3 separate regions of the Homo sapiens genome follow, and regions 1 and 3 are each linked to region 2. Evidence: promoter capture Hi-C in human tissues and cell types (Jung and others, 2019). All regions are on one chromosome and are shown on one strand. Each heading gives the region's core, a stretch centred on a gene start or on the middle of the fragment in contact. The rest is flanking DNA. Distances are from core to core; before and after follow the strand shown. Region 1 overlaps DCAF1 (DDB1 and CUL4 associated factor 1). Region 2 holds the start of RRP9 (ribosomal RNA processing 9, U3 small nucleolar RNA binding protein). Region 3 overlaps ALAS1 (5'-aminolevulinate synthase 1).

The links. The method cuts DNA at HindIII sites, captures the fragments that hold promoters and counts their contacts. A contact is called where the count stands out against the background at its distance.
Region 1: a contact is called between a fragment that was not itself captured here and the fragment with the promoter of RRP9 in region 2, in 1 of the 25 tissues and cell types used here (dorsolateral prefrontal cortex).
Region 3: a contact is called between a fragment that was not itself captured here and the fragment with the promoter of RRP9 in region 2, in 1 of the 25 tissues and cell types used here (dorsolateral prefrontal cortex).

Annotation. Positions count from the first base shown.
Region 1 is chr3:51,481,691-51,485,817 of GRCh38, forward strand. It overlaps DCAF1 (DDB1 and CUL4 associated factor 1), which reads right to left. Exons shown (of 25, transcript NM_001387579.1): 3 at 2,029-2,146. The coding sequence starts at 2,138. Among named protein-coding and RNA genes, the nearest start is that of DCAF1, 16 kb to the right of the region's middle. The HindIII fragment of the contact is 7,292 bases long and covers 1-4,127 here.
Region 2 is chr3:51,939,855-51,943,664 of GRCh38, forward strand. RRP9 (ribosomal RNA processing 9, U3 small nucleolar RNA binding protein) reads right to left here and starts at 2,050. Exons shown (of 15, transcript NM_004704.5): 1 at 1,927-2,050; 2 at 1,555-1,637. The coding sequence starts at 2,013. PARP3 (poly(ADP-ribose) polymerase family member 3) reads left to right here and starts at 2,509. Exons shown (of 11, transcript NM_001003931.4): 1 at 2,509-2,854; 2 at 3,500-3,684. The coding sequence starts at 3,502. RefSeq lists enhancers at 1,412-2,060, 2,185-2,514. The HindIII fragment of the contact is 37,282 bases long and covers 1-3,810 here.
Region 3 is chr3:52,202,278-52,206,465 of GRCh38, forward strand. It overlaps ALAS1 (5'-aminolevulinate synthase 1), which reads left to right. Exons shown (of 12, transcript NM_000688.6): 4 at 230-457; 5 at 1,586-1,735; 6 at 2,416-2,638; 7 at 3,562-3,746. Among named protein-coding and RNA genes, the nearest start is that of ALAS1, 6.2 kb to the left of the region's middle. The HindIII fragment of the contact is 7,206 bases long and covers 1-4,188 here.

The DNA of each region.
Region 1 (4,127 bases), core at 607-3,106, 460 kb before region 2:
AAAATGAAAGGTAAAATATGCCGGGCACAGTGGCTCACGCCTGTAATCCCAGCACTTTGAGAGGCCGAGGCAGTCAGGTCACTTGAGGTCAGGAGTTCGAGAACAGCCTGGCCAACATGGCAAAACCCCACCTCTACTAAAAATACAAAAATTAGCCAGCGTCGTGGCGGGCACCTGTAATCCCAGCTACTCAGGAGGCTGAGGCAGGGAGAATTGCTTGAACCTGGCAGGTGGAGGTTGTGGTGAGCCAAGATCATGCCAATGCACTCCAGCCTAGGCAACAGAGTGAGACTCCATCCCCCCAAAAAATAAAAACAAAAAAAGTTTTTCAGTTTAAAACCATTCAGTTTAAAACCAAGGTAGGGAATAAAAAAAGCATTAAGTTATGAATAAATGAGGAGACACACAGAAATGAGGATGATAAGCTCAATTTTGGACATGGTCTGTTTCAGGTATCTGTAGAAGAGCCAAGTAGGCCAGCACTGTGGCTTCGCCTGTAATCCCAGCACTTTGGGAGGCCGAGACAGGAGGATTGCTTGAGCCCAGATGTTCAAGACCAGACTGGGTAACACAGGGAGACCCTCCCTCTACAAAAAATTTAAAAATTAGTCAGGTGTGGTGGTGCACACCTGTGGTCTCATCTAGTAGGGAGGCTGAGGTAAGAAGATGGCTTGAGTCCAGGAGATCAAGGCTGCAGTGAGCTGAGATCATGCCACTACAGCCTGGTGACAGAGTGAGACCCTGTCTCCAAAAAAACAGAGCCAGAAGAGCCAGGTAAAGATATATTCACCAGGACGGGCGCAGTGGCTCACACCTGTAATCCCAGCACTTTGGGAGGCCAAGGCAGGTGAATCACCTGAGCTCAGGAGTTCAAGACCAGGCTGGCCAACATGGTGAAACCCCGTCTCTACTAAAAATACAAAAATTAGCCGGGTGTGGTGGCGTGCACCTGTAATCCCAGCTACTCGGGAGGCTGAGGCAGAAGAATAACTTGAACCCGGGAGGCGGAGGTTGCAGTGAGCCGAGATCGTGCCATTGCACTCCAGCCCAGGAGACAGTGCAACACTCCATCTCAAAAAAAAAAAAAAAAAAAAAGATACATTCACCAAACAGTTGGGAAATGAGTCTAATTTTTTTTATTTTTATTTTTTTAATTTAAAAATATGCTGGGCATGGTGGCTCACACCTGTAATCCCAGCACTTTGGGAGGCCAAGGCAGGTGGATCACCTGAGCTCAGGAGCTCAAGACCAGCCTGACCAACATGGTGAAACCCCGTCTCTACTAAAAAGATACAAAAATTAGCTGGGCGTGGTGACAAACGCCTGTAATCCCAGCTACTCAGGAGGCTGAAGCAGGAGAATTGCTTGAACCCAGGAGGCGGAGGTTACAGTAAGCTGAGATCACGCCATTGCACTCTAGCCTGGGCAACAAGAGCAAAACTCCGTATGAAAAAAAAAAAAAAAGCCAGGCTCAGTGGCTCACGCCTGTAATCCTAGCACTTTGGGAGGAGGCCAAGGCGGGTGTATCACCTAAGGTAAGGAGTTCGAGACCAGCCTGATCAACATGGTGAAACCCCGTCTCTACTAAAAAATATAAAAAGTAGCCGGGCATGGTGGTGGGAGCCTGTAATCCCAGCTACTTGGGAGGCTGAGGCAGGAGAACCCCTTGAACCCAGGAGACGGAGGTTGCAGTGAGCCGAGATCACACCATTGTACTCCAGCCTGGGCAACAAAGCAAAACTCTGACTCAAAAAAAAAAAATTAAATTAAATTAAATAAGAAAATTAAACAGCTTCAGGAAGTAGGGAGATAAAGACTAAATCTGAGGAAAGAAAAAAATTGATTTAGAATTTACAGTCTAGGTGAAAATGTTCCTATGCTATTCTCCACACCAATTTTTGCTTCTTTTTAAACTAGTTTGTGTGTGTGTGTGTGTGTGTGTGTGTGTGTGTGTGTATGAAGAAATCTAGCGTATGAGTTGTGTCCGAGGTTTTTTATTAAACTAGGTTTTAAAAAAGTTATTCATACCTGGTAAGGATAGGTACCATGTCCTGCCCACTGCCATGTTCCTTTTCCCACTGCTCCAGCAGGGTAGTGAGCTCAGCTTTGGAGTCCACATGTACCACTACTGTAGTCATGGCTTTGCCTAAGGAAGCAAAAATAAAAATAAAAAAGACAACCAATAAATGAACACAAGCAAATAAAAGTGAAGAAGGGGTAGAAAAGGACGAGAAGGCAAGAGAAAAAATTAAAAAGGGAAATTTAACCCCTTGAACCCTTTGGATTTATTTGTGGTACAGCAGAAAACTCGGGATACTCATCAAGCCTAGATACCCATTCAGTAGTGATGAACAAGTACTTTCGCCTTTCTCAGCCTCAGCTTCAACTGTCAAATGAGGCAAGAAGCTGGATCAAAACAGTGATTCTTAACCTTTTGAGGAGTCCCTTTGAAAATGAGACAAAAAATATGGTACCTTTCCCTCATCAAAAATGCATTTACCACCAGGCATGGTGGCTCACACCTGTAATCCCAGCACTTTGGGAGGCTGGGGCAGGTGGATCACCTGAGGTCAGGAGTTCGGGACCAGCCTGGCCAACATGATGAAACCCTGTCTCTACTAAAAATACAAAAATTATCTGGACATGGTGGCAGGTGACTGTAATCCCAGCTACTTGGGAGGCTGAGGCAGGAGAATCACTTGAACCTGGGAGGTAGAGGTTGCAGTGAGCCGAGATCACACCATTGCACTCCAGCTTGGGCGACAGAGCAAGACTCCGTCTCAAAAAGAAAAAAAAATAGATTTACCTAATGCCTACCTGTAATATATACAATAATCCCAGGCCTAGATCTCTGAGGTCTAAAACTTTGTGCTTACATTTTTTTAAGCACAAAATGTGGCCAAAACTACTCCCAAAATATTTTGCTCGTTAGTCCTTTGAGGGAAGTTCTATCAAAGATAAACAGCATGGCACACTCCTGTTTAATTTTTTCTTTTTTTTTTTTTTTTTTGAGATGGAGTCTCACTCTGTCACCCAGGCTGGAGTGCAATGGCACAATCTCGGCTCACTGAAACCTCCACCTCTCGGGTTCAAGCAATTCTCCTGCCTCAGCCTCCCGAGTAGCTGGAATTACAGGCGCCCGCCACCATGCCTGGCTAATTTTTGTACATTTAGTAGAGACGCAGTTTCACCACGCTGGCCAGGCTAGTCTCAAACTCCGTTTTTTGTTTTGTTTTTTTTTTGAGACAGAGTTTCACTCTTACTGCCCAGGCTGGAGTGCAATGGCACAATCTCGGCTCACTGCAACCTCTGCCTCCCGGGTTCAAGCAATTCTCCTGCCTCAGCCTCCCAAGTAGCTAGGATTACAGGCATGCACCACCACGCCCAGCTAATTTTTGTATTTTAGTAGAAACAGGGTTTCACCATGTTGGTCAGGCTGATCTCGAACTCCTGACCTCAGGTGATCCACCCGCCTCAGCCTCCCAAAGTGCTGGGATTACAGGCGTGACCCACCGCGCCCAGCTCTGTTAATTCTTAAAGAGAAGGCCAAGAAATGAAATGGACACTACTGCCAGCATGAAAGTGGAGAAGGAACACTATAAAACTCATTTATCCTTCAAGCTTCCTAACCTCTCTCACAGCTGATTTCCTGGAAAGAAGAGGCTAGAAGAGAGGCAGAGAAGGTTGGCTGGGTTGAGTGGTTCAAACTAGGAATGCAGAAGGGCAGGGAGCTGAGGTGAGCTTTGGAGGACCAAATAAGACACCCACATATGAGAGGCTTATAAGGGGATCCAAAAGGGATAAATGAGACGCAAATGTTTGACAGGTTATGGCATCAACTTCTTTATAAAAGTAGCCTTAAAATCAAAATGTCATATTCTGCCACGCAAAATGCGTATCTTCTCAGAAACAGCAACCATTCCATAAAGAGTTTCACATCAGACAGGAATTACTAGCTGATCTAAAATGAACTCTTCTAAAGATATCTACCATAAAACCAAAAGAAATACATGTAAAAGATGATATCATTATTGCATTGCATTATTGCATTGTATTATAAAATGCAAATATTTATGTTTTAATCAAGTAGATGCAATTCCAATAGTAGTGATTCATGTCACCTGGAT
Region 2 (3,810 bases), core at 800-3,299:
TTTCTGTATCTAACACACTTCACAACACAACATTCTAAAAATATTTAAAAGCACTTAGCCCACACTAGCCTGGCACACACTCACCCACAATAACCTTCGGATTAAGAAAAGTACATTAATGGCTGGGTGTGGTGGCTCACGCCTATAATCCCAGCACTCTGGGAGGCTAAGATGGGCGGATCACTTGAGGTCAGGAGTTCGAGACCAGCCTGGCCAACATGGTGAAACTCCATCTCTACTAAACATACATAATTAGCCAGGCATGGTGGTGCAGGCCTATAATCCCAGCTACTCAGGTGGCTGAGGCAGGAGAATCACTTGAACCTGGGAAGCAGAGGTTGCAGTGAGCCGAGATCGCACCACTGCACTCCAGCCTGGGCAACAGAGTGAGACTCTGTCTCAAAAACAAAAAAAAAAAGTACATTCTTTCCATGAGCAAATTAAGGCAACACATACTCAATTTTAGAAGCGAGTTCTAAAGTCAACTCATAGGGAAGGCACTAGGATTCTCTGGTCCAAGAGCCTCCAACCCACAGGGTCAGGCCTGACACCATGCCTGACCCTTTGAAAACCTGCAAGCAACCACACCCATCACCTGCAGAAATGAGGGAGGCATCCAAAGCCCTCTACAATCTACATGCACTTATGACCAGTCCTCCTGTTTTTGTGTGTGGTTTTTTTTTAGAGACAGGATCTTGCTGTCACCCAGACTGGAGAGCAGTGCATGATCATAGTTCACTGCAGCTTCAACTCCCTGGGAAGGGATCCCCAAACCTTAGCCTCCTGAGTAGTTGGGACTACAGGTGCACACCACCATACCCAGCTAACTTTTTTTTTTTGTACAGACAAGATCTCGCTATGTTGCCCAGGCTGGTCTCAAACTCCTGACATCAAGCAATCCTCCCGCCTTGGCCTCCCAAAGTGCTGGGATTAGAGGCATGAGTTACCAGGCCCAGCCCCCTTTCATCTTTTCTACTGCCCATTCTGGCACACTTACACCTCAGACTTTCCTCTGATCACTGAATGCCTTCCCTACCTCTCCGTGAGAGACTCCTCTTCATCTCTCAAGACCCTATTTAAATGTCCCTCCTCTGTTCCCAGAACACACAACTATAAAATACACACCTCACTACAACACACTCTCTTCACCCGCCTGCCTATCTCTGCACTTCCAACAGCAAAGGCAGTGCCTGGCATGTTAAGAGACGGGGAGCCCAGTAATTGTGAAATTGCAGGAAAACTGGCAAGGGAAGAAGGATGCAAGAAATACTTGACAGCTTTGTTCTGTTTTCCTGCAATTTCTCAATCAGTCCAGTCCCTGCCAAAACCTAAGGAGGTCTCAATGGCCTCGGATTGGGGCCCAGGGTCCTTCCCACCCAGAGACCTCGCAGAAACAAGACTTTGCAGGACCAGAAACTAAAGGAAACAGCCACGATCTCAGAGCCAAGGGACAGAGTCTTGGATTCTAGGCTCAGTTCTGTTCGGACTCACTCAGTCTTCCGTGCACCATGGGACTCAGTTTTCCCTCCCACTATGTGGAAAAGAATAGCTCACCTCTCGCTCTCAGAGTCGCTGGAGATCTCCTCATTCATCTTGCCGCCACCCTTGGATTTGCCCCTGTCCCCCGCAGAGTCGGCCTGGGAATTATACGGTCTTTTCTTTGGTCAGGGGTCCAGACCACCCTGGCATTGACCAAGGGCCCCCCCCCCTCGGTTCCCTCAGAACCCCAGGAATGGGGAAGGCGGTGGTTCCCGGGTTAAGCGAACGGCTTTCTAGGATTTGGCCCGCGGAGAGAGGGACGAAGCTGACTCCAGCAGGGGTCCAGGGCGAAGGGCTGGGGAAGGGCCGGGACCCAGGTCCCCTGGATGGGATGACGGTTGTCCCAGTAGCAGGGCTGACCGCGGCCCTCAGAAGCGCCATGCTCACCTTTCGCCGCCGCTTGCCGGCCCCCGCGCCAGCCCCGGCCCCAGAGGCCGGCTTTCCCCGCTTACGAGCAGCCGCTGTTGCCGACATGCTGCCCACCAGGCGTGTAGCAGCGGCCGCAGAACTCACGTGGCAGCTGAACCCTCCCAGCTCCCCAGCCGCCTGGCAAGACCCCGCGTATTGATAGGCTTCCACCGCCCGCCGGGCCCCGCCTCCTACTGCTCCATTGGGTCCTTCTGCAGGCTCTGCCACGCCCCCAGGCACCCATAGGATGCACGCTTGTAGCCCCGCCTCCTGAAGTTCCTAGGCTCCCGCACCAGGCTCGAGTAGGAAGCCCGCATCTCCACGGCGCTTCCGGCCTGATGCTGTGGCGCTTGCGCTCTGCTGCTGGCCCACTTCGAAGTCGGAGCAAGAGCCTTCTCTGTGTTTGCGCCCCTTGGCCGCTGGGGGGCGCCAGAGACGCGGCGCCCTTTCGCGTTCTGGAACGTGACTCCTCCCCTCCATGGGCAGCCCGGCGCTAGACCCAACGGGGATCCAAGCAGCCCCGGGGAGAGGGAGGCTGCGTCTGTATCCGGGCCCAAGGTCACCGCGCGACCGGCAGATGCGTGCTGCAGGCCCCGGCCACATGAGCAGCGCTACGGACGCGACTGCCCCGGCCTTGGATATGCCAGATCGAGTGTCCACCCGTCCGTGGGACTGGTCGCCTGACTCGGCCTGCCCCAGCCTCTGCTTCACCCCACTGGTGGCCAAATAGCCGATGTCTAATCCCCCACACAAGCTCATCCCCGGCCTCTGGCGATTGTTGGGAATTCTCTCCCTAATTCACGCCTGAGGCTCATGGAGAGTTGCTAGACCTGGGACTGCCCTGGGAGGCGCACACAACCAGGCCGGGTGGCAGCCAGGACCTCTCCCATGTCCCTGCTTTTCTTGGGTGAGTGTCCTATGGTCCTGCCCACGGCAGGGCAGGGCAAGGCCTGGTGGGACTGGCCTTTGCCCTCTATCAGTTCAAGGCCACTGATCCGGAGTTCTGGCTCCTCAGAACTCTTGAGTCCATTGGGAAGGGCTTCTACAGCTCTGGGTTCTAAGCTCCGGGAGGATAATCTGGCCCCAAGAATCCTGCCCCCAGGATCCTCTGCCCACCCTCCCCCATAGCTCGGTGACTCGGCCCGGCAACCATGCCAGGGCTGAACTAGCTGACACAGGGGGAGGAGCCCCGAAGTGGAAGAGAGAGAGCCTCCTTTCACTTTCCCTACCCCTCAGGACACACAGGTGAGCTGCAGAGGGTAGGGAGCCAGGCAGACCCTGTTGACCAGAGTGGGCAGACTGGACAGAGTCCTAACCTTGCACTTGGGACTGGGGAAAGGGGTGTTTCTGAGTGACAAAGAGCTGGGTGTGGTCTGGGGCTGGGAATGCCGTCAGAGTGGACACAGGATGCAGTGGGAGGCCACCGAAGGGCCAACCCGGGGTGGGGCAAGTTGGTGCTGTGCTGGCCCAGGGCAGGGGTGGGGACTGAGAGTGGGTCGTTGGGGATGAGGAGACCATGGAGGCCTAAGGGCCTCTCTGTGCCCCAGGACAGCCATGGCTCCAAAGCCGAAGCCCTGGGTACAGACTGAGGGCCCTGAGAAGAAGAAGGGCCGGCAGGCAGGAAGGGAGGAGGACCCCTTCCGCTCCACCGCTGAGGCCCTCAAGGCCATACCCGCAGAGAAGCGCATAATCCGCGTGGATCCAACATGTCCACTCAGCAGCAACCCCGGGACCCAGGTGAGCTGCAGTCCCCAGTCAGGCCCAGAGCCTGCCCACTGATAAGCACAAACACACCCAGGCCACCCCCTTAGGACTCTGTTCTGGTTTTGGAGCCCAAGGCCCCCAGGTAAGCGCCAGAGCAAG
Region 3 (4,188 bases), core at 1,504-4,003, 260 kb after region 2:
AGGTGGAGGTTGTAGTGAGCCAAGATTGTGCCACTGTACTCCAACCTGGGGTACAGAGCAAGACTCCATCTTAAAAACAAAACAAAACAAAAAAAACACTTGTGTCTGGATGGTGGGGTACAGTAAGTATTAAGTTTATCTTTGAGGCAATAAAAGAAAGAAATAAGTGGTTTTCTTACATACTGTGCAACCAGATCTGATGCTTCACTTTTTCCATTTCCTCCCTCAGAAGACAAAACTGCTAAGGCCAAGGTCCAACAGACTCCTGATGGATCCCAGCAGAGTCCAGATGGCACACAGCTTCCGTCTGGACACCCCTTGCCTGCCACAAGCCAGGGCACTGCAAGCAAATGCCCTTTCCTGGCAGCACAGATGAATCAGAGAGGCAGCAGTGTCTTCTGCAAAGCCAGTCTTGAGCTTCAGGAGGATGTGCAGGAAATGAATGCCGTGAGGAAAGGTAAGAGATGAGTTGTGAACCATTAGTGGTAGTGAAGGGGTCCTTTTAGTTCTTTTGGGCCCTCAGATTTGTGTATGAGCTATTATTAGGGCAGTATTTATGGAAACACCTTCCTCTTTTAGGGCCAGAGAGGAAGGTCTTCAAGATAGACAGTCAAGGGACTGTATTGCGAAAGTGGGACTTTCTTTCTGGTGCGTGTGTGGGATGTGACCAGCTTTTATAGTTACTACTTAATTTCTGAAAATAACCTGCAGTCTTGAGCTGCCACCAGCTGCCTTTTGTCCCTTTGGTCTTTCCCATCATCTGCTAGGATAAAGATAGAAAATAATGGTTTTACTGCAGTAAGTGCTGGTCCTAGGGCTCCCAAGCCGTGTGTCTTACTGATGGTCATTGAATTGCAACCTTAACTCCACAATATATAGGTGTGGCTATATCTGCAGAGAACTCAAGGCTCCCCAAAAGCCTAACCAGCAGAAATTATGCATATGGCCAAAATTGTTTTCTATGAAGAAAATTGAGATTAGGACCAGGCCCAGTGGCTCACACCTATAATCCCAGCACTTTGGGAGGCCGAGGCAGGTGGATCACTTGAGGCCAGGAGTTTAAGACCAGCCAGGCCAACATGGGGAAACCCCATCCCTACCAAAAATACAAAGATTAGCTGGGCATGATGGCGCATGCCTATAGTCCCATCTTCTCAGGAGGTTGAGGAGGGAGGATCGCTTGAACCCAGGAGGCAGAGGTTGCAATGAGTCGAGATCGTGCCACTGCTCTCCAGCCTGGGTGACAGAATGGGACTCTGTCTCAAAAAAAAAAAAACAGAAAATTGAGATTAGGATTGGGGTGGGGATGTAGTGGAGTGAATAAGACATGCCAACCAGCAAGAAAGCTTTGGACTTTATTGTTCATTAAAGCTGGCCAGTAGCTCTGAAAACAACACCAAGAGTCTGCCATTACAGTAACTAAAATAGAAGAGATGCTTTGTACACTCAGTTATAACTAACTTTGGTTATGCTTGGCCTTTTTTGTGAACTAGGCCATAAGCCATTTTTGACAATATGTTTGGAAGATATTGTGAACTCAGAATAGAAAGTTGGTCCCATTTGTTTCTTGTTACTTTTGTTCCAGAGGTTGCTGAAACCTCAGCAGGCCCCAGTGTGGTTAGTGTGAAAACCGATGGAGGGGATCCCAGTGGACTGCTGAAGAACTTCCAGGACATCATGCAAAAGCAAAGACCAGAAAGAGTGTCTCATCTTCTTCAAGATAACTTGCCAAAATGTAAGTCTCATTGTTATTTGCCTGATGTAGAAAAGAATTTATAATTCAAATGTACATTAGATTAAATATAAAATTGCATGGTGAGGCTGGGCACAGTAGCTCATACCTGTAATCCCAGCACTTTGGGAGGCTGAAGCGGGAGAAGATCACTTGAGGCCAGGAGTTTGAGGCCAGCCTTGGCAACATAGCAAGACACTATCTCTACCAAAACAGTTTTTTTAATTAGCCAGGCATGATGGCTTGCATCTATAGTCCCAGCTACTCAGGAGGCTAAGGTAGGAAGATTGCTTAAGCCCAAGACTTCAAGGTTCAGTGAGCTATGATCACGCTATTGCACTCCAGCCTGAATGACAGACAGAGACTCAGTTTCTAGGAAAAACAAAAAAATGTATGGTGAGTTGAGGCTTGAAAGCCATATCCCTTGCTTGCGTGAGCAGGTGCTTTTGGTTGTGGTGACTACAGGTGCTGTTGGTAGCCTGCCTTCTGTCCTTTAATACTTACCGTCTACACATGGCACTGAGCCAAACACGACATACAGTCTTATTTACTTACAAGATGAGGACATCAAATAACCTGCCCAGGATCTCCCTCAGTTGCCAAGCTGAGACTTGTTGTATTTCACCAAAATGCAGCTGTGTTTCACAACCACCATTCTGTACTGTCTTTTGTTCAATTTTTAGCTGTTTCCACTTTTCAGTATGATCGTTTCTTTGAGAAAAAAATTGATGAGAAAAAGAATGACCACACCTATCGAGTTTTTAAAACTGTGAACCGGCGAGCACACATCTTCCCCATGGCAGATGACTATTCAGACTCCCTCATCACCAAAAAGCAAGTGTCAGTCTGGTGCAGTAATGACTACCTAGGAATGAGTCGCCACCCACGGGTGTGTGGGGCAGTTATGTAAGTAGCCCTTGGCTTTCAAATATTACTGTTGTTATTTGGCAAGCCAATGATGATGTATAGGGGTTGGATCTTTTATGGAGGGAACATTCAGTAGCTGAAAGTGTGCCATAGCAAAATACTATTCTTAGCTTCTGAAAAATATCTACAGATTACTTTTAAAGGAACTCTAATATGCAGGTAGCTGCTGGAGCCCCTTAACTTGTGAGGGTTCAAGCTTATAGGCTCAATGACCACACACGTCAGTCCACTTTCTATCACTCTGCAAGTGAGTGTGCCTTTAACACCAGGCAGTCTTTCACAGAGACATCCTTGGTTGTGGCTGTGAGTGGAGAAATACGAATCTAGCAGCGCTAGAGAAAAAGCTACTCCAAAAGACATGTTAAAAAGGATGGTAGATCCCATCACTCGTCCTTCAGGAGGCTCACCATCCTAGGGATGCTGGAGAGAGTTGCTGGCCAGATTCTCCAAAGGCTTGCTAAAGAGGGTCCCGGTTTGAGGTTTAATGATAGTGATATATCCAAACATTACATGACTGGCTTGCAGAGGGTAACCACCATCCAGGATGTCCCTCTAGAGTTTGCTTTTTCTTAAGCTAACATGTTATTGGAAAGAATAATGTTTCTCAGAAAATAAACCTTAGTTTCTTAGAAAAGAAACTCAGCTAATACCAAGCACTTACTGACTGTTAAATGAACACTTGTTCTTGATGATTCCTGGAGGTATCATCACCCTAGCATTGACACCTTCTCCCACCTAGTCTGAAGATGAAATCAGTTGAAATTTCTGACCCCAGGTTTCACAGTGAGAGAGTTGCTACATCAACATGTTTCAGTCTCCTGGATCCTAGAAAGGGGAAAAAATTCACATGGTGTTGAGAACCATGAGCTTTATTTTCTGGTTTTGTTTGTATTTTTAAACAGGGACACTTTGAAACAACATGGTGCTGGGGCAGGTGGTACTAGAAATATTTCTGGAACTAGTAAATTCCATGTGGACTTAGAGCGGGAGCTGGCAGACCTCCATGGGAAAGATGCCGCACTCTTGTTTTCCTCGTGCTTTGTGGCCAATGACTCAACCCTCTTCACCCTGGCTAAGATGATGCCAGGTAAGGAAGCCTGGCATGAGTGCCTTCGAGTTTTTTGGGTTTCTTAGTAATAACAAGAATATTGGCAACAAAGAAGCCTTACCAGAACCTCTCAATTGAAAATCATAATCCTATCTGGGCATTTGTTCTGGGGTCAAGCATGAAATGCTGACTGTACATTATGGGTTCCAGGAGAACGTGATACCAGTGAAAATTCAAACTTGAAACGTCTCATCCTTGAGCTAATTGCCTCAAATATGTTTTGTATTCTAAGATGATCCTTTGGAGAAGTCTCTTAATCATTTAGTTAGCTCTTGATTGAGTTTGGAGTGAGGCAGTCAGATTTAAGAGCAGATTAATGGCCTGCCACAAGGTTATTCTACACCTTTGGGCCTTCTCACAAGGGAAGCACTAACTAGTTATTTTGCCAGGAAGAAACTGGCACACAGTGTCTTTTTCCTAC